Regions from separate parts of the Homo sapiens genome. Here all the other regions are linked to region 1. The links are contacts of gene promoters, found by promoter capture Hi-C in human tissues and cell types (Jung and others, 2019). All regions are on one chromosome and are shown on one strand. Each heading gives the region's core, a stretch centred on a gene start or on the middle of the fragment in contact. The rest is flanking DNA. Distances are from core to core; before and after follow the strand shown. Region 1 holds the start of HOXC11 (homeobox C11). Region 2 holds the start of SMUG1-AS1 (SMUG1 antisense RNA 1). Region 3 holds the start of CALCOCO1 (calcium binding and coiled-coil domain 1).

The links. The method cuts DNA at HindIII sites, captures the fragments that hold promoters and counts their contacts. A contact is called where the count stands out against the background at its distance.
Region 2: a fragment that was not itself captured here is called in contact with the fragment with the promoter of HOXC11 in region 1 in 1 of the 25 tissues and cell types used here (neural progenitor cells).
Region 3: the fragment with the promoter of CALCOCO1 here is called in contact with the fragment with the promoter of HOXC11 in region 1 in 1 of the 25 tissues and cell types used here (neural progenitor cells).

What each region holds. Positions count from the first base shown.
Region 1 is chr12:53,970,712-53,975,276 of GRCh38, reverse strand. HOXC11 (homeobox C11) reads right to left here and starts at 2,151. Exons shown (of 2, transcript NM_014212.4): 1 at 1,354-2,151; 2 at 1-96. The coding sequence starts at 2,035. HOTAIR (HOX transcript antisense RNA) reads left to right here and starts at 323. Exons shown (of 7, transcript NR_186241.1): 1 at 323-379. RefSeq lists an enhancer at 331-925. The HindIII fragment of the contact is 16,724 bases long and covers 1-4,565 here.
Region 2 is chr12:54,140,755-54,145,881 of GRCh38, reverse strand. SMUG1-AS1 (SMUG1 antisense RNA 1) reads right to left here and starts at 3,280. Exons shown (of 2, transcript XR_007063322.1): 1 at 3,061-3,280. The HindIII fragment of the contact is 5,217 bases long and covers 1-4,506 here.
Region 3 is chr12:53,725,922-53,730,581 of GRCh38, reverse strand. It overlaps CALCOCO1 (calcium binding and coiled-coil domain 1), which reads left to right and starts at 3,130. Exons shown (of 15, transcript NM_020898.3): 1 at 3,130-3,178. LOC105369774 (a long non-coding RNA gene) reads right to left here and starts at 4,003. Exons shown (of 3, transcript XR_944973.3): 1 at 3,933-4,003; 2 at 500-646. RefSeq lists enhancers at 2,978-3,037, 4,355-4,660. The HindIII fragment of the contact is 5,999 bases long and covers 351-4,660 here.

The DNA.
Region 1 (4,565 bases), core at 902-3,401:
CTTTGTTGATATACACGTTGAAGAAAAACTCTCGCTCCAGTTCCCGGATCTGGAATTTCGAATAAGGGCAGCGCTTCTTGCGGGTGCGGGGGGCGTCTGGAGGGAGGGGAGGGGGCAAGTGCGAGGAGAGGGGGGAGAGAGACACGTGAGACCCGGGCGACCCCAGCCCGCTGAGCGCTCAGCGGCCCTTCTCCTAGCCCACCGCGGGCAGCCCTCCCGCCAGGCGGCTGGCTCTCCTGCAGCCGCAGCACCCGGGCAAGCCTCGACCCCCTGCCAGGTCTAGCGGGTCCCCACCCCCCCGCCACTGCGCCACCCCGTCCCCAGTTCTCAGGCGAGAGCCGCGGCTGACAGGGTCTGGGACAGAAGGAAAGCCCTCCAGGTACACGTGCGTCCCCTCGGGCCCCCTGTCTGCTCCCCCTCCGCCCTCGGGCCCTTCCTGGGCCGCCCTCCTAGTGGTTCGGAAAGCCCAACCCCTCCCCCAGAAATCTGGGGGGAAAGCTGAGAACAGGCGCGAAGCAGTGAAATCTGGCGAGAGCAGTCGGGAGGCGGGGAGGAAGCCGGCCAGCAGGCACCGAGACACCAGAGAGCCGCTTCCGGGGCCCTGGCGCCCCGGGAAGCCCGCGGGGCAGCGCCTTCCACACCGCAGTTCTAGGCAAGCACTAAGGCCGCGGACCCGGGAGAAACGCCCAGACCCCCGCCTGGAACGCAGTGGAGTCCTGCGCCGCCTCGCCCCATTCCCCTGTCGCCGCTGACCCCAGAGTTGCTTGGGTTTCTGCTCGAGGACCCGCGAACACATAGTTTGAACATTTTCAAAACTAGTTTTAAGAAGGATCATAGCGGTCCTGGCTTGCCTCTCCGGTCTCAGGTTCTGCTCCATTGCTCCTCTCCCCCACCTCTCCCCCTCTCTGGATCTCTCCCTGTCTTTCCCTCGCCCTCCCCTTTCTCCCCCTCCACCCCTCCCCTCCTCCCCACTCCTCGGCAGCCCGGCTCCCCATACTTCCTTAAATGCTCCTCTAAGTTCACGATCAAAGTTAATATCGCCCGCAATGGTTGCGCTTTTAAAAATTTCACAGACCGAGGGAGATAACGGGGGAGGGGGGTTCACCCGGCTTTTCCAAAGAGCCCTTTTCCCTCCCTCCCCACCCCTTCTCCATCGTAAAAAGTCGAGTCGTTGGGAGAGAGGGCTTTGTAGGTTATAATAAAATCCTTTGAATGCTTATAAAACTCCACATAAAATCGGACTGACCCAAAACACGAGGCCGTCCCCGCTCCCCTTGCCTCCCCCCTTCTCTCGCCCTCCCTCTCTCGCTCCCTCCCTCGCTGCCCGCCCGTTCCCCGGCCGCTGCTACCTACTGGGGGCGGCTCCTTTGGCCGGCTCCTTGGCCACGGAGTGGGCTGAACCGGACGAGCTGGGATTTGTGTTCTCCTCCTCAGCCTCCGCCTCGGCACCCGCCTCAGCCCGGGACGCCAGTCCCGAGGCCGGGGGTGCCTCGGGCTCCCCCTTGGCCTCGCCCTTGCCGGAGCAGGGGGGCTCGGCGGGCGGGTCGCCGCCACCGCAGTAGGCGTTGTCGAAGAAACGGTCGAAGGCTTGAGGCAGGACGCTGTTCTTGTTGACTGAGGAGTAGAAGCCGGCGGGGGTTGCGTGCGGGGCGCTGGGGTGGTGGTGGCCGCCGTAGGAGCCTTCGTTTTTCATGAGGATCTCGGTGACGGTGGAAGGAGGCAGGCACTCCCGGTGCATAAGCTCGTCGGCCGCCGCATAGCAGGAGGAGTAGCTGTTCCGATGGTGCCACTTGCCGGATGGCTCCAGGCCGTAGGAGACCTCCCGGACCGGGGGCACTTGGGCCGAGTAGGGATAGGAGATCTGACGAGAGGGGGCCTGGGGCAGGAAGGAGGAGACCGTGGAGAACTCGGGCATGTAGTAAGTGCAACTGGGCAGATAGAGGTTGGAGGCGCAGCTCCCTCGCTCGCCGAAATCTGCGCCCCTCTCCTTGCGCGACGGAGAGCAGAAGTTGCCCAGGTTGACCGAGTTAAACATCGTTCTCCTCTCCTGCCGGCTCCGGATGGAGGTTTTGGACCCGGTCTAGCGAGGGGGGAAAATTTGGGAAGGCGAGATGACGCGTTATCCGTCTTAGTCTCTCTCTCTCTGAGCACGTGATCCAAAGTAGATATTGTCATATATCAGTTCGGAGCACTTCGCAGACGTAGGAGGGGTTCTCTCTTAGGTAAGATCGGGGACGTTCAGGCGATTGGTTTGCAAACACCGCAGAAACATTATGAAAATCAATTGCAGATTTGTATTCGTTTTTCTCTCGTCACTCCCCTTCTCTCCATACCACAGCACGAGCAAAGGAGGAGAGAGAGGGTTGGGGTGGGGTGGGCGGTGGGATGGGCGAGGGTGGTGGCTGGGAAGGGGTAATTGTATTTTTTTCTAGCTGCTGCTCTTTTTTCCCCCAGGATTGGGGGAAGGAGGAGGGCTCTCATGTATGGGGGTCTTGCCTCCTCTCTGTGAGCAGCACCAGGAGGGTGGGAGTGAGGACTTCTTTCCCCACTGCCTGATTTCCCCAGAGAAGTGAATCCTTTCCCTTAAATCTCAGGGACTCTTACCCTTCCAACCCGCAGAGACACCGCCTGTTCACAAGAGTTTGAAGAAGTCCACTCTTTTCCTGGCCAGAGCTGGGTGTCAAGACTACCTTTCTGGAGTCCTTAGAGAGACTCCCGGAAGAGTATCTGAAGTTTCCCAAAGGTGAGGCAGCCCAGCTGCAAGCCAGTGTCCCAACTTTGTCTGGCTTGCTGTGCTGCCCCTGGCTAGGGAGTCAGATTAGTCATAAACGAGTGGTGAGCAGTGCGCCAGCCGCCCAGCCGGTGCCTGGCGAAGTCTGGGAAAAACCTTCTCTAATGTTGTGTTAAATATTTAGTATGAGAGAGTGGCCCTGGGTGAATATTTCATGCCTGCCTTTATTGTCAATCAATGTGAAGAAAGCTACATCCACTGTGGATTTTCAAATCCCAAACCCCAAAGAAAAGGATTGGAATGAGAGCCATGTATCTTCTATGTCAGGGCCCTTTGGCTTAGTGGCTCAGCCTCAGCTAGTGCGCTGAAAAGAAGCCTAGTGTAGGGGTCCAGGAAGAATATGGTGGGGGGGACTAGGTTTGGGGTTCTTATCCTTGGATGATTTTGAGGACTGTAAGGTGGGTGGTGGGGCCAGGTATGGGTCTCCAGAAGAGACTAACCAGACAGTGGAAAGGAGCGGTGGATGCTGTGGCATCAGGGGAGGCCCAGCGGCCACTCCCTAGTCAAAGCCCCCAGCCTCTGTCCCTGGGGCTGTGACCAGATCTTAGTGCCTCCTTCCTATTTCTCAGCCCTGTCCTGCCCTCCTACAAGTCTGTCAGCCTCCTGGATAGCTGTAGCCCAAGAAGTAGGCTCAGTCATTCTGCATCCCCAACCCCTTGCCTTCCATCCCTCTGAGCACCACAGGACACATGTGGGCATCTGAAAATCACTTTATTGAAAGGTTCTGGACTGGGTCCAAGGGGCCAAAAGCAACCAGCATGAGCTGAAAGCAACCTTGGATCCAAAGAGGAGCTGCCAGGGCACAATTTGTTTGGGAAGGAGGGGAAGAACCGAAGCCCCCAAGGGCTCAGCCCAATGCACACTCAGGGGAAAACAAAAAATAGCCCGAACTCTCTTTACATCCATAACCCTCAGTTAAAATTAGTTTCCACTTAAAGAAATTAGAATGGATTTGTCTTGATGAAACATGATAAGGTGCTGCGGCTCCCAAACCAGATAAGGAGGACACAAAAAATTGTAGCTTGTCTCCATATGTAACCCCTAAAATCCATTCCTCCTCAATGCTCCTGCCTCCTCAAACTTGCTCAGCATTTAAGTGACACCTGAGTGGAGTCTGCCTCCACCATGGGTCCCATTCTCAGGGTGGTTCTGGAATACTCAGGGATAGGTCTCAGGTGCCCCTCTACGCACTCAATGCTGGGCGCTACTCCTTTAGTTCTGGTCAGATCTTAAACTGAAGCAAAGAAGAACTAGATTGGGGCTTTGCTGAAGTGTGAGACTTCTGTTGGTAAGGGGCCATGAAAAGAAAAATCTGCTGTGTTTCCTTTTTCCTCTAGCCCTTTTTATAGAGTGAGATGGGGCCAGCATTTTTAATTATAGTGGTGGGGAACTATGGACTATGGCTTTTAATGGGGTTCACACTGACCTCATTAAACTCGAGTTTATTGAAGGCAAAATGCTGCCCAAACAGTGATAGGAACCAGCAAGAGGGAAGCGAGAGGTACCCCTATCCTTGCAGAGGTGTGGATGAGGGCTCGAGTCTCAGATCCCGCTTTCTCCACTTCCACCCAAGGCTCTGCTTCCTTCCCCCTCCTGGCCCTCCAGGGTGATGTGGGGCCCAATCCCCCAAGGCAGATTCAGCAAAGCCAGGACTGAGATGGGGGTAGGGGCTGTATCCTGTGAGGAGACAGCTGCTGGACTGAGCACTTGAATTTGACCACCAAAGTTTATTCCTGGGCCACCATAAAAGTGAGCCAGGCGGCAACAAGGAGCT
Region 2 (5,127 bases), core at 649-3,148, 170 kb before region 1:
ACTCCAACAGTTGGTTTGGTGTGGAGAAGGAGGCCTTTTCCTAAAGCTTGGTACCAAGCAAGAGGAACAGTGGTATCAACAGACCAAGGCAGGGGTTGCATCTGTGCCAGGCTGACCTGCCCCATGCCCTCTGAGGGTGCCCTTCCCCTGGCTTCAGGACCGTGTTTCCCTGCACCAGCTCCACGCTGCTTCCCCACTCTCTCCCCTCCCCTCAGTGCCCTTGCCCCATCCCCTCATCTGTAAGATCTGGGATTTGCGGGGACACTTAATCCATATGGAGCTGATTCATTCCCATCTAAATCATCTCCATGAGCTTCCCTAAGAGCCCTCTGATGTGCCAGCCACCATTCCTCTCCCCTGGGCGATGGCGGGCTGGGGGCTGCCAGTAAACAAACCTCAGCTGCCATCCATCCATCTTGGCCTCGCCCATCAGTCCAGCCAAGACCATTCATCTCTCCAGCACTGCTCCCTGCACTCCTCCATCCCTCCATCCATCTGTCTGTCCCTCCTTCTCATGCCCCTCTACTGGAAACTTTACCTCTCTGCCTTTTCCTGGGTAGCATCTTGAGGGGTCATCTCAACCATCCCCCTGCCTTCAGACAGGAGCCTTATTTTACCCCTGGCCCAGCAAGGCGGGGGCTCTCCCAGTTCATCACCTTCCGAGAATGAGGGCTTCGAGTCTGATGATTTTACTCTACAGTACTGACAACCTAGGGAAGTTCTTTCTTCTGTCTAGCTTGTGTGCTTGACATTCACATATGACCACACGTCTGAATGGGAGTGGGTATAAGATTATAGGATTATACTCAAGCATGAGAGTCTCCAGTATTTGTAATATGTACCTCTCTGGCTTAACATGGTATGTAGAGCTCAAGACCAGTGAAATGGGCCTTTCCTCCAGTCTCCCCCAGCAGAGTCTGGCCCAGTGCCAAGCACGCAGTGGGCGTTCGGTGTTGATTGCTTTCTGGCCATCTTCTTATTTGCCAGTGCCAATGAGTCCAGTGGTCTCACATACATCCTGGGGGGGGTTTTGGTGGGATGACTCTGTGGATCTGATACAGGGCAGATTATGGCACCTCTAGCCTGGCAGGGTTTGCAGTAAACACTAAGGAAATGTCTCTTACCTCTATTCTCCCACTCAAATTTCTTTTTTTTTTTTTTTTTTTTTGAGACAGAGTCTCGATCTGTCGCCCAGGCTGGAGTGCAGTGGTGCGATCTCGATTCACTGCAACCTCCACCTCCAGGGTTCACTCCATTCTCCTGCCTCAGCCTCCCGAGTAGCTGGGACTACAGGCGCTCACCACAACGCCCGGCTTATTTTTTGTATTTTTGGTAAAGATGGGGTTTCACCATGTTAGCCAGGATGGTCTCGATCTCCTGACCTCGTGATCCACCCTCCTCGGCCTCCCAAAGTGCTGGGATTACAGGCGTGAGCCACCACGCCCGGCCTATCCCACCCAAATTTCTTAACGCAGGCCTGGGGTAGAGCTTGCCTCAACAACTCGCTCTCGGTAATTGTGGGGCTGAAGAGAGGGAGGACGAACAGGAGGGGCAGCAGGTGCTGGTGGGGCCTTCCATGGCACTGAAGCAGAACCCTCGCATTTGGGGGAAACCCTTATGTTTACCTGCACTAATCAGGAGAGTGCATGGAGGGCGCCGCTGTCCCCTGCCCCAGCCTTAGCATTATGGCCCTTCCCTTTTCAGCCTCTTCACCTCATCCTGGGAGGGGTGACTCTGAGAAAGGGGCTTCTGCAAGTCCCTAAGGAGAGAAGACGGGAGCAGGTCTTTGGGTCCCACCTCAGCGTCTCCATGCGCAGCACCACTGGAAGTTGGGGAACAGGGAACAGGTCTGTCTGTCTGTCTCTGGTCAGTAGAGAATTTTGGTCAGGCTCTAGTAACCCTGCAGAGGGATAAAGTGGGTATGGGGGGTGGAGGTGGAGTTACAGGGAGAGATGAGGGCAGTACTTGTGACAGGTGTGTCCTTCCCTGGATCCAGTCATGAAGAGTGGGAGGGAGAGAGGAGAGGGAGGGGAAACATGAACTTTCACGTGCCCTGAGAGAGCTGGTGTTTCACCACTGCCAGCCGCTCCCCGAGACCTGGGATGCCTTGTTGAGCATCTGCCCTGCTCCCAGACCAGACTAGACCAGGCAGGGAATCCCGATGCATGCTTCTCCCCTGTCCCCACACTAACTCCCACTCCCTTTCCCCTTGTTGCTGGTCCCCTGCATGGAGTCACTGTGAGTACACAGGATAGGTGAGGCTCTACAGCTGTTATTGAGTTGTGAGGATCCTTGACCTTGTCCCTCTCACTCCCCTACAGGGAGAGGAGGCTCTAATTGTAGTCAGAAAGATAAGAAGGGTGTCTTGGAGAGGAGAGGGGCTGGGGGGGCCGTGGGGAAGCTAACCACTTGCCCCAGTCGTGTGAAGGTAAGTGTGGGAGGGGAGGGGCCTGCAGGTAGCAAGGCCCAACTTAAGAATGATGAGGTGCTTCTTAGTTCTCTGAGCTATAGACATGTGAAGTATGTAAGACCATGCGAAAGGATAAATTATCACCTAAGGAGGAGAGGACATGGGGGAATAAGAAAAAATTCAAGCCAGGGAGACCCAATGCTACCACCCCCATCACCATCATGACCTGATCCATCTGTGCTGGACTGGATTAAAGTCCATAGGGAGGGGGAGGCCTGAGAACTGGCCCTGAGGTCTTCAGAGGAAAAGCTGATCCCCCACCGTGCATTTGCTTGATGTTACACAGAGCAAGGGGGAGCTGGGAACAGCTGCTCAAATTCTTCAGGTGGGGCAGCCACGGGGAGCTCCCCATCCTCCTTCTTCCTTCCTTGCACCCACCTCTCTCCAACCCCTCCTTCTACCTAGTCCGCTGAGGAACAGTGCCCTCTTCTCCCATTGGCCCGCCTCTCGTGGTTGTCCCCAGCCTCTTGGGCTAGGCCCTCCTCACCCACTCAGTGGCTCCTAACCTCTCTTGTCTCCTCTGAAACTCCTCTTCCTGCAAGAAGCATCCCAGGCTGCTTCTCCCCTCCCCCCAAAAAAAGCCCACTTACCCAGACTTGCAGCTGATGAAAATCCTTTAGGATCCACTCGTGGGCTGCTGCCTTGGGTCCTGCAGGGTCTGGAGATTCCTTTGTTTGTCTGTCCTCTATTGCTCAACATCCACATGTCCAATTTAGGCTGGGATTCCCACAATACAAGTGAGGAGCCAAGTCTTTTTTTTTTTTTTTTGAGATGGAGTCTCGCTCTGTTGCCCAGGCTGGAGTGCAGTTGTGTGATCTCTGCTCACCGCAAGCTCTGCCTCCCCGGGTTCACGCCATTCTCCTGCCACAGCCTCCCGAGTAGCTGGGACTACAGGCGTCTGCCAGGATGCCCAGTTAATTTTTTGTATTTTTATTAGAGATGGGGTTTCATCGTGTTAGCCAGGATGGTCTCGATCTTCTGCTCTCGTGATTCCCGCAAAGTGCTGGGATTACAAGCGTGAGCCACTGTGCCTGGCCGAGCCTGGGGTTTTAAAATCTATTTGACAGCCCTTCTTCTGACATCATGAGGCAGAAATGTCTTGAGGAATGCTGGGAGGTCTTAGACGACCAATGAGCGGGACTGGTACACTTTCCCCCAGGGAAGCCACCTCATGCTACAGCAAGTAGTGACAGAGGCTAGACAATGGGAAGAACTGTAATCTCTTAAAATTGAAGGAAAGATTTCCAGGGTTTCACTGAAGACCTTGAGGAGGAATGACTTTAATCTTTTCAAGCTCTGAGGGAGCAGAGAGGCCTGGGAGTCTGGAAAAGTTTCTGTCCACTCTTGCAGAACTGACTCAAAGAGGGACGGCCACTTTCTTTTTCAAGAGCCCTGACTCATCCACGTTCAGTCCAATTCCACTCACAATTTCTTAGATAATTGTTTCTTTCTTAGACAGAAATTTGGTTCTGGAATTCCCTGTCCTATTCCTCCCATGACCTGGGAACCATCTTTAGGAACCAACTTCAGCTTATGGTGCCAGAAAAACAGAGATGTAGAGACATTTTTGGACAGTCACACAGCAAACCATCAAGGAGCTGGGAATGCCCCCTTATGGATCCTCTTCTCTTCTCTGGATGTGAAGGGAAAGGATATGATCCTAGGGGGAAGGGTGGGGTTAGTGAGAGCTGGAAGAGCACCCCCGCCCAGCAGGCCCAGATCCAAATGTGCACATGATGGAAATGCCTTTATAGCCAAGGGCCCCTCCCTCCCAAAAATAAAATCCCACAATTGGGGAACATCTGGATCAAACCACAGCCATGAAAGCGCAACATCAAACGAGGGTTTCTGAGCGACCCTCCCCGCAGGCCCTGGTCCAAGAGAAATTGCAGAACTTCCTGCTTGAAGCTTTTAAGTGTCACAGAACCCCTCAAATTTGGGATTGCCCCCTATTTGCTGGAGACAGATGTCCCCGAGTGTGGTTGGGCCTGATTGCCCCCAGCGGGATAGAGTGTGTGTGACCTGATCTTACCCCCAGCTAATCCAGGCAGGAAAGCTGTGATGAGGGGCTCCAGCCTTTCAGGCTGGGGGCTGGGGAGAGAGGGGACAGGTGGGCCTTCTGAAACGTGCCTACATCAAAGGTTTGAGTACCCTCCCTTCCAAGCTTTGGCGCCTCCGGCGGGGAGGAAAGCAGTGATTTCACCACATAACTGCACGTAGGGCGGATCTCAGTCTGAGAACTTCTGGGGAATGTGGAGAGGGGAGGGACGGTGCTTCCCAGAGGGGAGGAAAGGGCAAGGAGGGTTCTCGCTTCCAAAATAGCCTACCCAGGCCAAGGAAAACGGGGCCATATGCAGCCTCCCTCCTGCTCTGGCCTCTGTGGAGGGAAAGCTGAGGGGAGGGTGCATTCTTCCAAGGGGGGAGGAGGAGCAGCTATAGCAGGAGGAGGGCAGGAGCCAGATCACAGATGGAGAGCGGTGGGGAACAGGGGCATCTTCCACACACAGGGGCATGAAAGAGGAAGGCTGTAGGGTATGTGAATTCCAGGAGACAGTAGGCGCTCCCCTCCCTGTTCCCCAGGCTCTGTCCTGTCTCAGGAATCATAGAGTGTCTGGTCATGATGCTGGCAGGGTGGGATCGACTGTGGGGCACATGGG
Region 3 (4,660 bases), core at 1,881-4,380, 250 kb after region 1:
AAAGAAAGAAACAGGTTCTGATAAACACATAGGCTCTGGCTCACTTGACATTCAAAACTCTCTATACTCTGGCTTAAGTCTGTCTTTCCAATTTTATCTTCCATTATCCAATTATCCAACTGTAGCTTCTTTTTGTTGTTGTTGTTGTTGTTGTTGTTGTTTGTTTTGTTTTTTGAGACAGAGTGTCACTCTGTTGCCCAGGCTGGAGAACAGTGGTACCATTCTGGCTCACTGCAACCTCTGCCTCCTGGGTTCAAGCGATTCTCCTGCCTCAGCCTCCCAAGTAGCCGGGATTACAGGCACGCGCCACCATACCTGGCTAATTTTTGTATTTTTGGTAGAGATGGGGTTTCACCAGTTGGCCAGGCTGGTCTTGAACTCCTGACCTCAAGTGATCCGCCCACCTTGGCCTCCCAAAGTGCTGGGATTACAGGAGCAAGCTACCACGCCTGGCCTCCAACTGTAGCTTTTATTCAGCTTTGCTGCAATCACAACCTACCCCAAAATCTAAGCGACTCACAACAACCAGTGCTGGCTTCTGATTTATGTATATGCAGGTTGTGGGTAAGCAGTAGCTCAGCTCCACAGGTCTTCTCATTCCCAGGCCCAGGCAGAAGGAGCAACTCTCATGTGGATTATTCCCATTCTAGTGGCAGAGAAGAACAAGAAAGTGGAAACTCATGTGTTCAAACATGGCATGAGTCACATCTGTTCACATCCCATCAGCCAAATTATGAAACATGACAAAGCCCAAAGTCAATGACATGAGACATCTATTCCTTCTACAGGAGATACTGCAAGTCACATGGCAGTGGGCAGGAATGAGAGAGGAAATAATTTCAAACAATTAGTCCATCCACTACAACTGCCATTTTCCATCTGGAGTACATGGCAGACATTACTACCCAGCACTCTTTCCTCAGAATCCTCAACACAACATTTCAGGCAGACATTACCAATAATCTGAGTTTGCCTAAATACATAAATAAAGGTTGAAATTGATGTGCTATTATGTGACTCTAGGCTCATTATCCATTCCCACCTCCAAATCTTTGCTTTGGCCTAGAAGAAGCTTACCCTCCCCAGTCCCCATCTTGCCAAACTATCCAAATTTAATCTATCCTTCAAATACTTGAATATTTGAAAGTAATGACTATAATTAAAATAATGAATTACATTTATTATTTTAAAATAATGAATTACATATATTATTTTAAAATAATGAATATTTACTATTCATTCTTTCAATAAAAGTAACTGAATACCTAGCATAGTACCTGCCACATATTTGTTGAATGAATCTGTTTCACATTACTTTGTGCCTTGCACTGAGCACATAAATGCTCAGTGAACATTTGTCTCCTGTTAATGAACCAGCACTGTTCCTTAGAACAATGGGAGTTAGTATCACATGCCAGAGTTTCTGGACTGGGAGTATGGTGACTGCTTGTGCTTAAATCTTGATTCTGCCACTCACTAGCTGGATGACTCCAGGCAAGTCATTAATTGTGCCTCAATCTCATCATGTGTAAAATGGGGATAATAACAAGGCGTATTACATAAGCCTGTTGTATTAAATGGGAAAATTCTTAGCATAGTTTGAACAGATCATAAGCACCCAAGAAATGGAAGTTGTTACCATTTTTAGCTCCGAGACTGTTTTCTCGTAGACCTTTATTTTGGGCGGAAGACAAGAGCCAAGAACTCTTGAGACTTGGGTCCTTGAACAGACCTCACTCTTAACCCACTCCAGACCTTGAGCTACCTCCTCATCCAGAAACTGGTTCCCTAACTCATAAATCCTGACTAATGACACAGACACATCACCTTAATGTTTGTGCAGCCCAGTAACTAATTTTTAAGTGCCTGGAGATCTTCAGATGAAAGACACTGAGGGCAGACACCGCATTCAGTCATAAAAGCAAAACACTACCAAAAAACTTGGAAAAGGCAGAAGCTCCATAACTTAGTGCAGTAGAGAATTAAAGCAGGCACCTAGGAAGAGGAAATCAATCCTTAAGACTGTAATCCTTTAATGCAGAGCCAGAGAAAGAGGTAATTCTGAATGCCTCCGACTACAGGGATGGAGAATAGCGAGAGGGGGGACAGGATGCCCAAGTCTATAACGTGACTTGGGGTGTGGGAGACGTGTCAATCTTTCACCTCTCCTAAATAAAAACCGGAACGTCAACATGTATTGTTATCCTAATTAATTTAAGCCACTTAAAAGGCTTGGGCAAACAGGCCCCATAAGTGGCTTGTTTGTGAATTGTGACAGGTCCTGAATTATGCCAAGCTCCCTTTTCAATTTCATTCTTCTCATTCCACCGCTCCTACCACCACCTCAGTCAATTGTATCCTCTTCCTAGACCCAGAAGCCACTCTGGGGGAGCCCAGTCCAGATGTGGATATGGTCAGGCCCCTTAGCACTGAAATCCTCAAGTTGGAAAAAAATGGTCAGCTGTGCAGAAGACATCATTCTTACAAGGTCTGTCCCTGAGATTGAAGTAAAGAAGAAACTGCTATACCCCAGCTATCAGTTTCCCATCCCCAAAATGGTGGGTAGCTGTGGTGTAGTGGCAAGAATATATGACGTGGAATTAGCCAAGGCTAATGCAGTTCTACATTTCATAGCTTTGACACTTCACACCGCCTCCTTAACCGTACTTCACTTTCTACATCTATAAAGCGTGCATAACGCTTAACGCCTATCTCACAGGTGGGTGCGAAAAGTACAGGACGGGACGCAACAGAAACCGCTCTGCCCACCGTTAAAGCGTTATATGGAAGGCTTTAGAGCCGTAAATCCTCCCCAGCCCCCAACAACGCACGTTACAAACCAGCAGCCACCCCTAATGCAGCCGGCCCCCTCCTAAGGGATCATGGGCCTTGAAGTCCTTTGCTGGCCACACCCTCGTTTTCTGTCATAGGAGTGAGAACTACGCCTCCCAGGATGCCGCGGTGAGGCCGCCGTCACGGACGCCCTCTTCCCCGCCCTCCTTGCGCGCAGCCTTCTGGGATGTATAGTCCTAGATCCGAGCACGCAGCGGCAAAAGGGCGCAGAAGAACCACAAACCCCAGAAGCCCTCGCGCCCACTCTTCTCCCTCCCCTCCAGAAGTCGGAGTGCTGTTTTTGTTGTTGGTGAAAGGTGAGGGGAACAGCTGATCCGTCTGTTGGGTAAGAAACTTGGCCTAATTGGGGGCGATCTTATGGGAGGGGAGGGTCACCCCACTTTCCAGTTTGGGGAAGGATAACGTAAGGGAACTGTCGAAGGGGAATACAGGAGCGTTTGGGTTGTAACCCTTTCCGTACTGGAGAAGCCACCCCCGCTGTTTGGGGAGTTCTTGGTTTCAAGGGGACTCTGATTGGGGGTGGGGGGCGCCCCCTCGTCGTCCTCTCCTTCTTCTCAATGCGTCTCTATAAAGCTGATCCCTTCAAGGGAGCTGAAATCTGCTTATTCGCTCCCAGGCAAGACGTGTCCCCTACACGTCTTCCCTCTCTCCCCTACGCAAATCCAAAGGCCTTTACGACGCTGAATCCCTGGGGAGGAAGGGGGACCTTCCAAGGTGTAGAATGTCAAGGAACTCTAGAGCCCTACAGAGTAGGGGATGGGACACCCGCTCTCCGCCCCATCATGTGAACATCTGAATCAGGCTACACACCTACATCTTAGGTGCCCAAAACTTTCTTTCGGACATGAAGAACGTTTACAGCTGTTACGGATTTTCTTTGTGGGGTGTATTTTAGGGTTCTCCAGGTATATCTTTGGGGACAATTTACCCCCACCCTTAGAAAGCTGGAAGAATTGCATTTGGAGAAAACATGGATTAGTTTCAACCAGGAATTTTTCAGGGAGATGAACATTAAAAAAAACTTTTTGTTCTACCTATTTGGGGGACAGAAGTTGCTCCTTTTTGTGTTGCTGGCTCACCTTTATCCACTGAGTTTCTGTTTTCTTTTAAAGTTCCTGTCCCCTGGACTTCAGCCTGGTGTGGGTTTGTGATGTTTGGGGGCGTGCATATGACTAGTGACAATGGCTGGTTGGACATGTCAGCTGTGAGTGACACAGGAAATAGATTAGTGGGCTGGAAAGGAGTGATGAATAAGAGGGCCATCTCACAGCCCTGGACTGAGGAGTTCTTTTGATCGTTATTATTGTTATCTGTCCTCACCCCACCCTCATATTTTCCAATTAACTCTCCCCAGCTAACTTGGAACACCCCTTCCTCTCAACCCCATCCTGTAGTGTGTCTCCAGCTACCAATACAAACAGATGGAAGGATGGAGGCTGAGGGGAGCAGAGAGAAAATGAGGAGAGAAATACTAAAGTGAAACCAGTAGGTTTCTAGTCCTGCTGCAGGCACAGTCTGGAGAGAAGAATGTTAGGTTCTTTTTGAACTATCTCCCCTTTCCTCAACGTTAAATATACATTTCCACTTCTTGGGGCCCCTTACTTCCCACTTTCTAGTCTGTTCCCTGCCCTGGGGTGGGGCTTTCCTGGCTCCAGGCCCCCACATTCCATCTCCCCACCCCCACCACGTTCCTGCTAAGCGCCTCACTCCACCCTTGAAGTTGCCGCCTCCAGAATTCTTGACTTCCTGGAATAATAAGTCAAGGGACAGAACCTGTCTTTCCTTATATCCTCCCCTTCCCTTTGTC